2 separate regions of the Homo sapiens genome follow, and region 1 is linked to region 2. Evidence: promoter capture Hi-C in 16 types of primary human blood cells and fetal thymus (Javierre and others, 2016). All regions are on one chromosome and are shown on one strand. Each heading gives the region's core, a stretch centred on a gene start or on the middle of the fragment in contact. The rest is flanking DNA. Distances are from core to core; before and after follow the strand shown. Region 1 holds the start of BEST1 (bestrophin 1). Region 2 holds the start of SCGB1D4 (secretoglobin family 1D member 4).

What was found. The method cuts DNA at HindIII sites, captures the fragments that hold promoters and counts their contacts. A CHiCAGO score of 5 or more calls a contact.
Region 1: the fragment with the promoter of BEST1 here is called in contact with the fragment with the promoter of SCGB1D4 in region 2 in 12 of 17 cell types (activated CD4 T cells, erythroblasts, endothelial precursors and 9 more); the score reaches 9.1 in activated CD4 T cells.

The regions. Positions count from the first base shown.
Region 1 is chr11:61,945,143-61,951,626 of GRCh38, forward strand. BEST1 (bestrophin 1) reads left to right here and starts at 5,209. Exons shown (of 11, transcript NM_004183.4): 1 at 5,209-5,285. It also overlaps a transcript of RAB3IL1 not described here. RefSeq lists a silencer at 907-1,070. The HindIII fragment of the contact is 17,311 bases long and covers 1-6,484 here.
Region 2 is chr11:62,296,033-62,303,139 of GRCh38, forward strand. SCGB1D4 (secretoglobin family 1D member 4) reads right to left here and starts at 3,043. Exons shown (of 3, transcript NM_206998.2): 1 at 2,924-3,043; 2 at 1,440-1,626; 3 at 249-387. The coding sequence starts at 2,978. The coding sequence ends at 378. The HindIII fragment of the contact is 1,500 bases long and covers 2,215-3,714 here.

The sequences.
Region 1 (6,484 bases), core at 3,959-6,458, 350 kb before region 2:
GGGGCCAATGTGGCTTACTCCTCATCTAGCCTACCCTTGTGCCGTCCTCTCCAACATCCATCCACCTGACAGATGGATGACCCTTCCTCTTCCCCAGGGGTTGTTTTGATGAGTAGATGACATTTCTAAAGAGCGCTTAGTGCACTGCCTGACACCTGGTAAGTGGTCAAGATGGGGAGAACTGATTGTTTCTACTATTCTTTCCCTCTCACAGTGGCCACCGCAGCGCTAAACACGGTCGGTCGGCATTCAGTGCTCGCCGTGGAAGCGAACCGCAGGAGCATCCTGGGGCAGCGGGGAGTTGCTGCACTCACCTAGACAGGCGGCCTACTGTGACTTCAGGCAAGTCATTTTCCTTCTCTGTGCCTCAGTTTCTTTGTCTGCAAAATGAGCAGCTGGACTAGAAACTTACCATTCTTTCACAGCACGTCAAACTCAACATGCCCATTTGAGCTGAAGACACTGAGGCTACTCACTGGGTGTGAACCTTTGACAGCATCCAGGCCCTGCACAGTTGTCTAGGAGAAGCCTGACCCATGATGTCCTTTCCGCTACCCACCTGCCACGAGCCCCAGTTCTGAGCTGGAGGGGTGGGGGTGGGTGGAAGGTGGATAGTGGTCAGTGCCTCACCTGGCCGACTGCAGCCTGGCAGAGTCCATGGGGGACCTCGCAGCACAGTGGATCCTCTTGCCTTGTGTCTCTAGTTGGTCCAGCTCTGGTCTATTCCATGCTATTCCGTTGTCATGGGCAGGACTGGGTTTGATGAAGTTGGACCTAGGTGTATCCCAGCCTCTCCTGGTTTCTGTCGTCTTTCTGTGGTGCCCAGGGCTTATGTTTCTATCTCTTTGAATGTTGAGTTTACTCCGTCCTTCAGGGATCAGGGCTGCCTGAGCTCAGGGTGGAGGTGCTGTTGTCTGTCTGGCTTCCGGGCCCTGGACTGGCAGTGTCCCCCAGCACCCCTGTCCAGCTATGCCAAGCCCCCTCCTTTTCTTTCTTGGCCTCTGCCCTATTTGTTCTGTGACTGGCCCAAGAGAGGGGTGTGGGCTGGCAGGTGTCCCACATAAAGCCTGGAGGCAGCATCCAGGCCTGGCTGACTTACCCCGGGGCCCCCTGCCTACTGCCCCCAGCCAAGCTGGGTCTCCTTCTTCCTGCCCAGCTGAGGCAGGGCCTAGAAGGGCACCGAGGCAGGCCCTCTGTGATGCTCCTGTTGCTATGGTAATTCTAGATGAGAAGGCCATAGCATTCTGTGTCTGGCACCCCCGCGCATCTCCCCAGCTCTGCCCTGCTGCCCCAAGAGATGGCTCTCTGCTGGGGAGCTCGAGAGCTTGGAATCTGCTGCAGTCAAAGTTTCTTCCATGCGGCCAGGCACAGTGGCTCATGCCTGCAATCCTAGCACTTTGGGAGGCCGAGGCGGGTGAATTACTTGAGGTCAGGAGTTCAAGACCAACCTGGCCAACATGGTGAAACCCCATCTCTACTAAAAATACAATACTTAGCCGGAAATCACTTGAACCCAGGAGGCAGATGTTGCAGTGAGCCAAGATCATGCCACTGCACTCCAGCCTGGGTAACAAAGCGAGACTCCGTCTCAAAAAAAAAAAAAAAGTATCTTTCATGCAGGCCCCATCCTTTGGACCTCCCTTCAACCCCAAGAGAGACCACTACCCTAGCAGGTAAGACTCTACCTCTCAGAAACTGACCTTTACTGTAGAGCTGATAGTGGGAAAGGGCTCAGGATCCAAAATCAAAAGACCTAGATCCTAGTCTCAAGCCATTTATAGCTGTGTGACCTTGGACAAGGCAGGCCTTGAGCTTCAGTGTCCTCCTTTGTAAAATGTGGATAAACATGCGATACTGAATCATCCTTCAGGAATAGCTCTATGACTTTCCGTAGGTTGTTCCCCTGATGTGTAATGCTCTTCCATTCTTCTCAGCTCCATGAACTCCTACTCATGCTTCAAGACCCAACCGAAATGCCCCATTGTCTGTAAAAATTTCCCTGACCTCTGTGCACTTGGCACAGATCTTAGGCCTTGCCATTCTGTGTTAGAGTTGTTATTTAAGTGTTTCCAAATTTTTTGACTATGAATACGTACAGGCAGGAATCAGATTAGGCTCAGTTCTGGAAGGAGAAATGGTTTGGCGAATATTTTCTTTGCGGAACGGAAAGCAGAAGAGGGCGACCTTGACTGGGTTGGGTGCCATCTCTGCAGGGGTCAATCCTGGGACTCTTGTTCCAGGCATGGCTTGGGTCAATCAGCACTCATGACTTTGCTGTGTGCCTGAGCCGTGCCTGGCTAACTGGGGACATTTTCATAGCTGAGACCCAGTAGGAGAGACCATGACTTGTGCCAGGGTGTGCCTGTCTCAGCTCTGGGGCAGGGCCAGGAGCAGCTGCTCATGGGATGTCTCTGGGGACATGCTGGGGCCTCTGGGAGGGGAAGGGAGACTGGCCATGCACTGTCTATGGTCCTGGTGGTACTCCTGGGATATTGCCAAGGAGCCTGCGGTTCAGGGAACAGGGAGGAGGGACTCTAGTGTCTCCAACTCCCTCTCATGGCTCTATGGCTGCTGGTCGGGGTCAGGGAGATGAAGCAGTGCCAGCTCCGTGGTCTGCACTGATCCTGACCAGTGAACCAGGCTTCCCCAGCCAGAGCCAGCTAGTCAAGCACGCTCTCTAGTGGCCACCACAGGGAAGGCAAGAACTTGTCTCCACAAAGGCAGGATTTTCATTTATTCCTTCAGAGAGTACAGAATGAGCATCAATGTTCCAGGCATGGTGCCAGGCATGTGTGTTAACTTTAGTTAAAACATACTTATTGGCCGAGTGTGGCGGCTCACTCCTGTAATCCCACCACTTTGGGAGGCCTAGGTGGGAGGACTGCTTGAACTTAGAGCTCAATACCAGCCTGGGTAATGTAGTGAGACCCTATCTCTATAAAAAAAAAAAAAATAGCTGGGTGTGGTGGTGTGCGTCTGTAGTCCCAGCGACTTGGGAGGCTGAGATGGGAGGATTGCTTGAGCCTGGGAAGTGGAGGTTGCAATGAGCCAAAATCACACCCATTGCACTCCAGCCTGGGTGACCTTGTCTCAAAAATATAGTTATATATTTACTTATATATTTATATGTATAAATATATGTGTACATACAAATATATTTGTAATATTATAGACATATTAATACATATTTACATATGTTAATATATAAATATATATAATATATATTTATCATCTTCTAAATGGAAAGCTCTTGAGTTTCAGGATGTGTTGGTTGGGAAGGGAATACAGGATAGGGAAATAATCCATTAAGCAATGACTCAGCACAGGCCATAAAATCAGAATCACCTGGAGAACTTGAACAATCCCAACACCTGGGGTCCATCCAGACCAATCAAATCAGAATTCGTAGGGGTCAGGCACAGGCACCAGTGGTTTGGAGAGTTGACGGACACATGTCCCATCCATCATTCTCATTCGGCTGCCAAGGTAGGCATCGTTGTCCCATTTTGCATATGAGGAGACTGAGGCTGAAGTGAACCTGCTTCTTTCCCCATATCAGTTGAGGACAGCGATGGGGCAGCGGGGAGGCAGTAAATACTCCTACAAGGCTGCCTCTAAAGAGAGTCTTATAATAACAACAGCTTTATTGTTTGCCATGATTAGAAAAGTATTCAAGGTCATTGCGAAATAGTGTTTTTTTTTCTAGGCAGATAATTATATAAAGGCAAAAATGGTGTGTGGGGGTGGGGGACAAGGGGAGGGAGAGCATTAGGACAAATACCTAATGCACGCAAGGCTTAAAACCTAGATGATGGGTTGACAGGTGCAGCAAACCACCATGGCACACGTATACCTATGTAACAAACCTGCACATCATGTATACCTATGTAACAAACCTGTACATTCTGCACACGTATCCCAGAACTTAAAGTGAAAAAAAAAGTGGTGTGTAGAAAAATCACCTGCAATCTCAGCATAGTTAACGCTTAGTACATTTCAGAGAGAGAGGGTGACAGGAAAGGGAGGATGAGAGTGGGTTTAAGACACAAGGTCATATTATAAAATCAGGGCTTCTGGAAGTTTAGTCCCAAAACCACACATCTCATAATCCCCTGCAGTGCTTGATTAAAATGCAACATCCCTAAGGCCACAGACTCAGACTCTGGAGAAAGATCCAGAAAACTGCCCGTTTAATAAACATTTGGGCGATTCTTACGGCCTCTAAAGACCAAGAACCACTGCTGCCTAGAGCTCTGCTCTCTTCATTGAACAATACAAGAGGAGTGTGTAGGTAGACACCCACCACTTCCAACAGCTTAGGAGAGCCCTTGAGTATGGATTGATGTATTAAAATTTATTGAATCACATGCTGAGATTTTCACCAGCTGCCCGTGGGGATCTGGGCATTTATTCCCATATTGCACTGGCTGGCTGGAAGCCAGCAGCATAAACTCCAGGGCTGTTCTGTCAACCCCCACCAGACTCACCCCCCTCCACCAGCCCCGGCAGGCTTCTCCTTCCATCTCTCTGAAGCAACTTACTGATGGGCCCTGCCAGCCAATCACAGCCAGAATAACGTATGATGTCACCAGCAGCCAATCAGAGCTCCTCGTCAGCATATGCAGAATTCTGTCATTTTACTAGGGTGATGAAATTCCCAAGCAACACCATCCTTTTCAGATAAGGGCACTGAGGCTGAGAGAGGAGCTGAAACCTACCCGGGGTCACCACACACAGGTGGCAAGGCTGGGACCAGAAACCAGGACTGTTGACTGCAGCCCGGTATTCATTCTTTCCATAGCCCACAGGGCTGTCAAAGACCCCAGGGCCTAGTCAGAGGCTCCTCCTTCCTGGAGAGTTCCTGGCACAGAAGTTGAAGCTCAGCACAGCCCCCTAACCCCCAACTCTCTCTGCAAGGCCTCAGGGGTCAGAACACTGGTGGAGCAGATCCTTTAGCCTCTGGATTTTAGGGCCATGGTAGAGGGGGTGTTGCCCTAAATTCCAGCCCTGGTCTCAGCCCAACACCCTCCAAGAAGAAATTAGAGGGGCCATGGCCAGGCTGTGCTAGCCGTTGCTTCTGAGCAGATTACAAGAAGGGACTAAGACAAGGACTCCTTTGTGGAGGTCCTGGCTTAGGGAGTCAAGTGACGGCGGCTCAGCACTCACGTGGGCAGTGCCAGCCTCTAAGAGTGGGCAGGGGCACTGGCCACAGAGTCCCAGGGAGTCCCACCAGCCTAGTCGCCAGACCTTCTGTGGGATCATCGGACCCACCTGGAACCCCACCTGTGAGTACAAGGTGCCCCAGGTGGACTGGGCTGGGGCTTTGAGGCCTTCAGGGTTGGATGGCCATCTTGCGTATTTGTGTGGGATATGCACACACAGGCAGCACATGCGCAGGTGTGTGGGCACCTGTGTGTCTGTGCAAATGCCCTGAGGTGGGAATGAGCTTGGTGTGCATCAGGCACAGCCAGCCAGTGTGGCTGCAGCAAAACACACAGGGAAAGAATGGAGGGGGCATCAATCACTGCTTCAGTAAATTTTTATTGAGCGCCTTCTACGAGAACACAAGAGGAGCTTCCATTCTGAGGAGGAAACAGGCAGGAAACAGGCAGATATCCTGTATAATTTCAAGTAGTGATAAGTGCTCTCTAGAAATATCAAGCAAGGTGAGGAGACACAGAGCACCGGTGGCAGTGGGGCTCTATTTCCAGGTTGGATGGTTGGGAACATCCTTTCTAAAGGGAACCTGGAGTGGGAAGGAACCATGCAGGTATCTCAGGAAGAGCTTCCTCCAGGCAGGAAGATCAGCAGGTGGAAAGGCCCTGGAGCCACCATTCAGTAAACATCATTTGAGCATCTCTACCAGCTAGGTTCCATTATGGGAATGGGAATATGGTGGTGGACAGGGCTGCCTGGTCCCTTCCATACTTCTCACACTAGGGTGGTTGAGAGAGCTTGGGAGCTAACGAACAAGATGGGCTGAGAACACTGCCTAGCCCAGAGGACCTGAGCTTAGTGTGTAGACATTGCTGCTGTTACTGCCTTTGTCATTGTATTATTTATTTATTTATTTATTTATTTTTAGACAGAGTTTTGCTCTTCTTACCCAGGCTGGAGTGCAATGGCGTGATCTCAGCTCACTGCAACCTCCACCTCCTGGGTTCAAGCGATTCTCCTGCCTCAGCCTCCTGAGTAGCTGGGATTACAGGCACCCGCACCACGCCTGGATAATTTTTTTGTATTTTTAGTAGAGACAGGGTTTCACCATGTTGGCCAGGCTGGTCTCGAACTCCTGACCTTAGGTGATCCACCTGCCTCGACTTCCCAAAGTGCTGGGATTATAGGCATGAGCCACTGCGCCCAGTGATTATAGAAAGTTAAAGGCACATGGCAATGCACACGCCTATCTACGTCTTCCCTGCCAAAGCAAAGGGCAGCCTCTGGGCTCACTTTCTTGCGTTTCTACTTCCAAAAGGCAGTCAGA
Region 2 (7,107 bases), core at 1,793-4,292:
CACTGTAATTGCTGTTTTCTATTGCCATGGTTTTCATTCGCGAACGCAGGATGGGAAATCTGTAAGGAATCCAGGATGATTTCTGCAAATATTTCCTTCTGGGATGCTTGCATTCAGGCCCCATTAGTAACAGAATGCTGGTTACTCTAGAGTTGATTATCAGCCACAGCAAAAGTCCACTCCCCTATGGAAACCACCCTCGATTCAAGGCCCGAGACTGCAGGATCATAACAAGACCAGTGGAGATGTGCAGGGCAAGTGATTTATTAAAGCAACGTGTTGAAACCTTTACAATTTTTAGTGAAGATCAGGGTGTCGTTGAAAGACTTTGGAAACCAGGTTGAGCATTTTTACATGTCACACACCACATTTTTTCACTATTTCCACCTGAAATCAAAAAAAAGAAAGAAAGAAAGAAAGGTGAGGTCAGTCATGCTGCTGCTGGTGATGATAGGCTAACATCAAAGAGGCCAATGGGATTTTGCCCCAATGGCAATTGGAAAGGCAGAGGCAAGAATTCAGTTTGGGAAACTGAGGCCTAGACCTGGTGGCCTTACAACACCCATTCTGGTGAGAAAGCAGCCTTTCCCCACCAGACCAATAGACCTGGGAAGACCCAGGAGTTAGGCCCAGGGTTTTCATGGAGGAGGAGGGGAGGGGTTGACAGTGCAGCAAGAGGTTGTTGTCTGGGCTGTCCCAGGTCTGTGGAGTCTCCTGATCCCTGTAATGGGGGACCCAGGGCTCTGAAGCCAGGCAGGGCAGGGAGGGCTTCTGGGAAACACACCTTCCAGGAGACTCCAGTCTTCCCATGGGAGAATTCTGCCTAACGGCCAGGGGTCTTATCAGCCCTGACCCTGCAGCTTCTATGGGTATTTGCAGCCAAACCTCAGGACAACAATCCAGAGGCAGCCAGGCTGAGAGGGCCCTGGAATCTCTGATTTCTTGAGAAAGACATAGTGAGAACATCCCACTTGTGTGGCGTTGCAGTAGGTAGAGCAGCGAAAAAGTCTTGGCCCACTGGCTGTGGTCAGGAGAGTGTCATGGATGAGGAGTGGATAGTGGGCCCTGAGGAGCTGCAAGGGGCTCCTGGCTCTGCAGAAGCTGCACAGGAGCCCAGTTCACCAGCACCCTGTCTGTGGGAGGCCCAGCTCTAGGTCCCCTCAAGCCTCCTCTCCCTGTTCAAATCTCCCACACTCCCTGGGACATCCCATAGTGACCGTGTCCACTGCGTGAGGGTAGGTTGACCTCAGGAAAGATCCCAGCAGGGAGGCGGCCGTGCTTGGCCCTTCACCATCCCTGCCTTGGCCCTAGCTCACTCCCCATGTCCTCAGCACACTCTGGGGACACAGCATCCAGGCAGGTGACCTGACAAGAAACATGCAGGAGGCTGTGTGCAGCTGAGTTGAATTCTGCCTCTGCATAAAGGAGAAAGAAATTACCAGGACTTTTTCAATGAGAGTCGTTTCTTAAAAGATATCTGATCGGTGCAGTGCTTCACTTCCAACTTGGCTGCAAGAGCTTCTGGAGGTGGATTAAGTTTGGCAACTTGGAGGTTTACCGCAGCGTCACTTAAGAATAAGAAGACTGTGATCTCAGAAGCAACAGCTGGGCAGACAAGAGCATGGGCTGCAGCACAAAAATAAAAATATTGTTGATGTTAGGAAAGTCGATTTTTCTCTCATGGCTCCCTGAGGTTACACCAGACAGGATCCCCTGGGTTCTATGTTTCTATACCATTATTGTGCTGATGACAATACCAGAAACTCCAGGTGTGACTTTCTCCGGGTCACACAACAAAGGGAAGAGCTTCATATCCTCAGCTAGACTTCTTTTTCTTTTTTTTGAGATAGGTTCACCCAGACTGGAATGCAGTGGCACAATCTCGGCTCACTGCAGCCTGAATGTCTTGGGCTCAAGCGATCCTCCCTCAGCCCCCAAAGTAGCTGAGACTACCAGTGCCTGCCACCATGCCCGCTTTTGTGTGTGTGTGTGTGTGTGTGTGTGTGTGTGTGTGTTTTGTTTTGTTTTTTTTTTTTGTAGAGATGGGGTTTCGCCATGTTGCCCAGGCTGGTGCTGAACTCCTGAGCTCAAGTGATCTGCCCACTGTGGCCTCCCAAAGTGCTAAGATTACAGGAATGAGACACCATGCCTGGCCCACAGCTTGACTCTTGACAACCATAACCTTACTTCATTCTCATAGCCACTCCTGGCAGAAGCTTTAACCACCAGTGATAAGAGGAGGCTCAAGGAGGGTGAGCATTGTGCCCAAGATCAAGGGGTGGGAAGTGTCGAAGCCCAGGTTCACCCCAGACCTCACATTACATCATCTGACACAGATCCCATTCAGAAGTGAAGCTCAGGCAGAAGAATTCCTAACATTTGCCTGAACTGATTTTTCTATAAAACTTCTTAGATACTGGGGATTAGAAGAAATAGCTCTAAGCAGCCAGGCGCAGTAGCTCATGCCTGTTATCCCAGCACTTTAGGAGGCCGAGGCGGGCAGATCATCTGAGGTCGGGAGTTCGAGACCAGCCTGACCAACATGGAGAAACCCCATCTCTACTAAAAATACAAAATTAGCCAGCTGTGGTGGCCCATGCCTGTAATCCCAGCTGCTCAGGAAGGCTGAGGCAGGAGAATCACTTGAACCCCGGAGGCAGAGGTTGCAGTGAGCCAAGATCATGCCACTGCACTCCAGCCTGGGCAACAAGAGCAAAACTTCTCAAAAAAAAAAAAAAAAAAAGGAAGAAGAAAGAAGAAATAGCTCTAACCTTTATGAATCTTATTCAACAAGCACAGAAAAGGGTTTGGAATTTTGTTTGGTTTTGTGCAGACCCCAACCCAAAGCACAAATAGGTGATCTTGTGCTCAGAAGAGGGTGCATCCCAGGGGCTGGTGCTGGACTCATGACTGATGTACTCACCCTGGTAGCAGCAAAGGGCCAGCGAGACCATCAGGAGACACACTGACAGCCTCATGGTGGCTTATTCGGCTGTGAGCTCAGCTTTCACAATGAGTGATTTGGATTCGACTCCAGGAGCCTGTGTAGTCATGGAGGCCAGGGCTATTTGTACCTAGGGAGCCTGGCTGGTCCTACCTACCGGGGCACCTGGTAGGTCATGAGGCCTGGCTCCCAGCCCGCCCTTCCAAGCCAGGGCTGCTGCCGTCCATCAATGTCACCTCCTTAGGAATCTCTGCATCTGAGTGGGGCGGAGCACAAGACAGCAGCCTTGTGAGAACTCTGCTCTGTGCTCCAGGTGAGTGTTCAGGTACATCTGGAAATGTTCCTGGGATCCTCAATTTCCTTATGAGCTTTTGCTGATTAGTTCTTTTTATCTTTGTAGCAGTGCAGGGGCACAGGTGAATTATGGCTTCACAAGGCACAGGAAGCTGGAAGGCTGTGTTCTCTTTATGGGAGAGCAGGGACATAAGGAGACCCTGCTTTGATCCCCCTGCATGTCTGACAACAAGCAGGCTTGTTTCAGTTGCACATTGGGAAAGTCTAATCCTTCCCCTCAGCCCCTTCCATCACCACCATGTTCACTGCATAGGTACTGAAAACATAGTTGAATACATCCCACCTGTAGAAGATATGCTGAGGAAAAACATCTGCTGCACCTGTTCTCTAGCCTGCCTCACTCCCAAACCTGAATCTTGTTTATACGTGCAGTTATATATATGGCCAAGATTCACATTTTCTATCTATAAAAAGCAAGCTTTCTGTGATGTGTAGCCACCCACGTCTTATCTTAGGGCTGATCTGAAGATTAAATAACCTAACTCTTTTTCTCAAGAGCTTTTGGAGTGTTCAGAGCCAATCATACATCAGTGGGGCTCTAGGCTGGGAAGATAATAGAAGGGAAGAGACAGAGGAACAGGGTGGGTGGTCACTTCCCCCTAACCCCTAGGCTCAAGTTTTCCACTTCAAACCTATCTGTGCTGCCTGGGCCAATCCCATTTTTAAGGGAAAGTGAAGGAAGCCCCCAGACAAAGCAATACACACCCGCCTTCCCTCCCATTGCCGTGCCTTCATGTGGTGTGAGTTTAATCACCAGAAATTTTTCTCTTAAATAAACTTACATTTGAGAGGAGTCACAGCCCAGGCCATAGCTTTCCATTCTCAGCTATGTAGTCAAATCACTTGGAGCTTTTAAAACATACTGACCCCACAGGCTTCTCTCTCTGGCGATTTTGATTCAGTAGCATTGGGGTGAATCCCTCCTTTCTGTACTGTTTAAACTGCTCTGGTGTTTCTCACAGACAGCAGGGCTGAGATCCAGCCAGGAAAACCTTTAAGAAGGAAGGGGACCTTACGGGTTTTGTCATCAAAGACACATTGACAGATTTAGTTGAGTCCAAGCTGAGGGCAACAGTGGATCTCACTTTCATCACACAGGATGACGACGGAGTCCCTGAATCAGCCCTGCTGCCACCAAGGAGGGGGAGGGTTGGTGGTGAGGTTTACAGCTATGAGGGTTCAGATCCTCATTTATGGGCTCCTGGACCTTAGGAAAATTATTCAGTTTATGTAACCCCAGTTTTCTCATTTGTCAAAGTAGGCTACTAATGGTGCCTACATCATTGGGTTGATAGATGATCAAATGAGTGTGTTCATGGGTGTGTGTGTGTTTAAAATATACCAAGTTCTGGTACATAGTAGTTCTCAATGTAAACTGCCATTATCTTGTCCCATTTGTCATATATGTCATGGTTTGCCAGTAGTTCCTAGTTTAGAGCACAGCCAAAATCCACTAAATCACCTACTTGCAGAACTACACGGACACCTAGATACACCATTTCTCTTTGACATAAATGGAAAAGGAAACCCAGCTCATGGTCTTGGAGGCTGCAAACCCATGAATATGGGCTTCAGGACTGAGGCCTCTTTTGCAGTAGACAGGTCTGTGAAGCATCCACCCTTTTTGTGGATGAGAGTTTATCCTCACTCAGGCTTGACATTCACCTTGTCATCTGTACAGTCCATTGGGGAGCATGTGTATCTCTGACAGAGGATTGTTTGCGTATACTTTTATTAGTCCTACCACGATTAACACCTATGCAGGGTTTTTTTGTTTTCATCATTGATGCTTTTTATGGCTCCCTCCTTTTTACACAATTGACTCAAGATTTTAGTTTATTCTTTCCATCCATGGACATCGTTGCCTGACCCCGATGACTTGTTCAATACTCCCCTTCATAGACTCTGCTGGAACCATGCACCTCTCATTTGCAGCAATCTCAAGTAACAAGGAATTTAAAAGGATTTTCTTTAAAAGTGCTCAGCTTAATTAAAAGTGGATATGTTCAAGTTATAGGTATATTGAAAAGGTCTTTATGCTTTTCTCTTGTTGAATCTTGTTTTTTGGGAAAAAGGCTCTTTTCTTTTCAATCAACTGAATTATTTTTCTCCATTTTTCATCTTACCATTCTTAATGCAAGCATGAGAAGCCCTAAGATAACTTCTGGTAGCATGGGACTCCTTGGGAAAAACAGAGGAGGCACCACAGACCCCATTTTGGGGAAAAAAAAAAAACTGTTTTCCTCATGAAACCCCCAAAATTAAAAGCAGTTACTTCTCAAAATCAAAGGCTCTGTTCTGTTATGTATTGTGTAATCTACCATTTTGAGTTTTGGGGGTGTCAAATTACTTCACACTATGAGAGAGCTTCGGTGTGTAATAACTAGATAGAAAATTCAATGTTAGGGATGGCTAATAGTAGTTATAATCAAAGAAGCGTGCTCTTGGCCACCTGAAAGATATGGCAACATCCTCACCCCCAACTAAGAGACGAGACTCCCATGGGGAATGGGCTCATTACAGAATAAGCCAATTGGCTTTGGGTTCCCTTGCAGTGAAATACGTGATAGAACCACTACACTGTCTTCTCCCATAGTATCTCCCTCCTTTTAGGGACCCAAGATCAGGTATAAAATGGCACCCTTAATTTTAGGGATCTGCCTTTGCCTTCAGCTGCGTCTGTTTATTAGGTATGCTACATAGCCCTGTTCCTTCAAGGGCTCCACCCTAAAGCCAGTAATCCAATTAAGAGACTACCAAGTGAAAAATCTTACAAGTGCTGAATCTTCTGTTTCTTAGTGTTGCTATATATGTGCTGTGTGTGATGTCTATAAAAAGAGCTCTGATTGATTGGCTTAAAGAAAAATAAGTGCTTCAATCAAATGTTTTAGTTCACATGACTTGAAGAAATAAAAATAGTCTGAAGGATTATTAGTAAAAGGCAAGTGTCATCAAAATGCAAATAGGTTGTCTAAATCATATAATTTAGATACCAGGTTTGCTAAATGTTGCAAGGTCATATACTGCCTGCTTTACACATAGGTAAGGCCTGGGACTCATGGAGCTAGAAGCTGAAAAGTCAGACTTTATCTGCACTTCTGTCTGGGTCCTAGGATCCACAGCTGGAACATAATTAAAATTGCTTACTAACCAGGTTTTTCACCAAAAATAAAAGGTGAAGGGTAAAGTTATTGTAAACCACAGAGATAAATACACTTCTTTGTCAGTTGATGGTGTTTTCTAAATATACAATCATGTCATCTGCAAACAGAGACAATTGGATTTCCTCTTTTCCTATTTGAATACCCTTTATTTCTTTCTCTTGCCTGATTGCCCTGGCCAGAACTTCCAATACTGTGTTGAATAGGAGTGGTGAGAGAGGGCATCCTTGTCTTGTGCCAGTTTTCAAAGGGAATGCTTCCAGCTTTTGCCCATTCATATGATATTGGCTGTGGGCTTGTCATAAATAGCTCTTATTATTTTGAGATATGTTCCATCAATACCTAGTTTATTGAGAGTTTTTAGCATGAAGGGCTGTTGAATTTTATCAAAGGCCTTTTCTGCATCTATTGAGATTATCATGTGGTTTTTGTCATTGGTTCTGTTTATGTGATGGATTATATTTATTGATTTGCATATGTTCAACCCGCCTTTCATCCCAGGGATGAAGCTGACTTGATCGTGGTGGATAGCTTTTTTTATGTGCTGCTGGATTCAATTTGCCAGTATTTTATTGAGGATTTTCTCATCGATGTTCATCCGGGAGATTAGCCTGAAATTTTCTTTTTTTGTTGTGTCTCTGCCAGGTT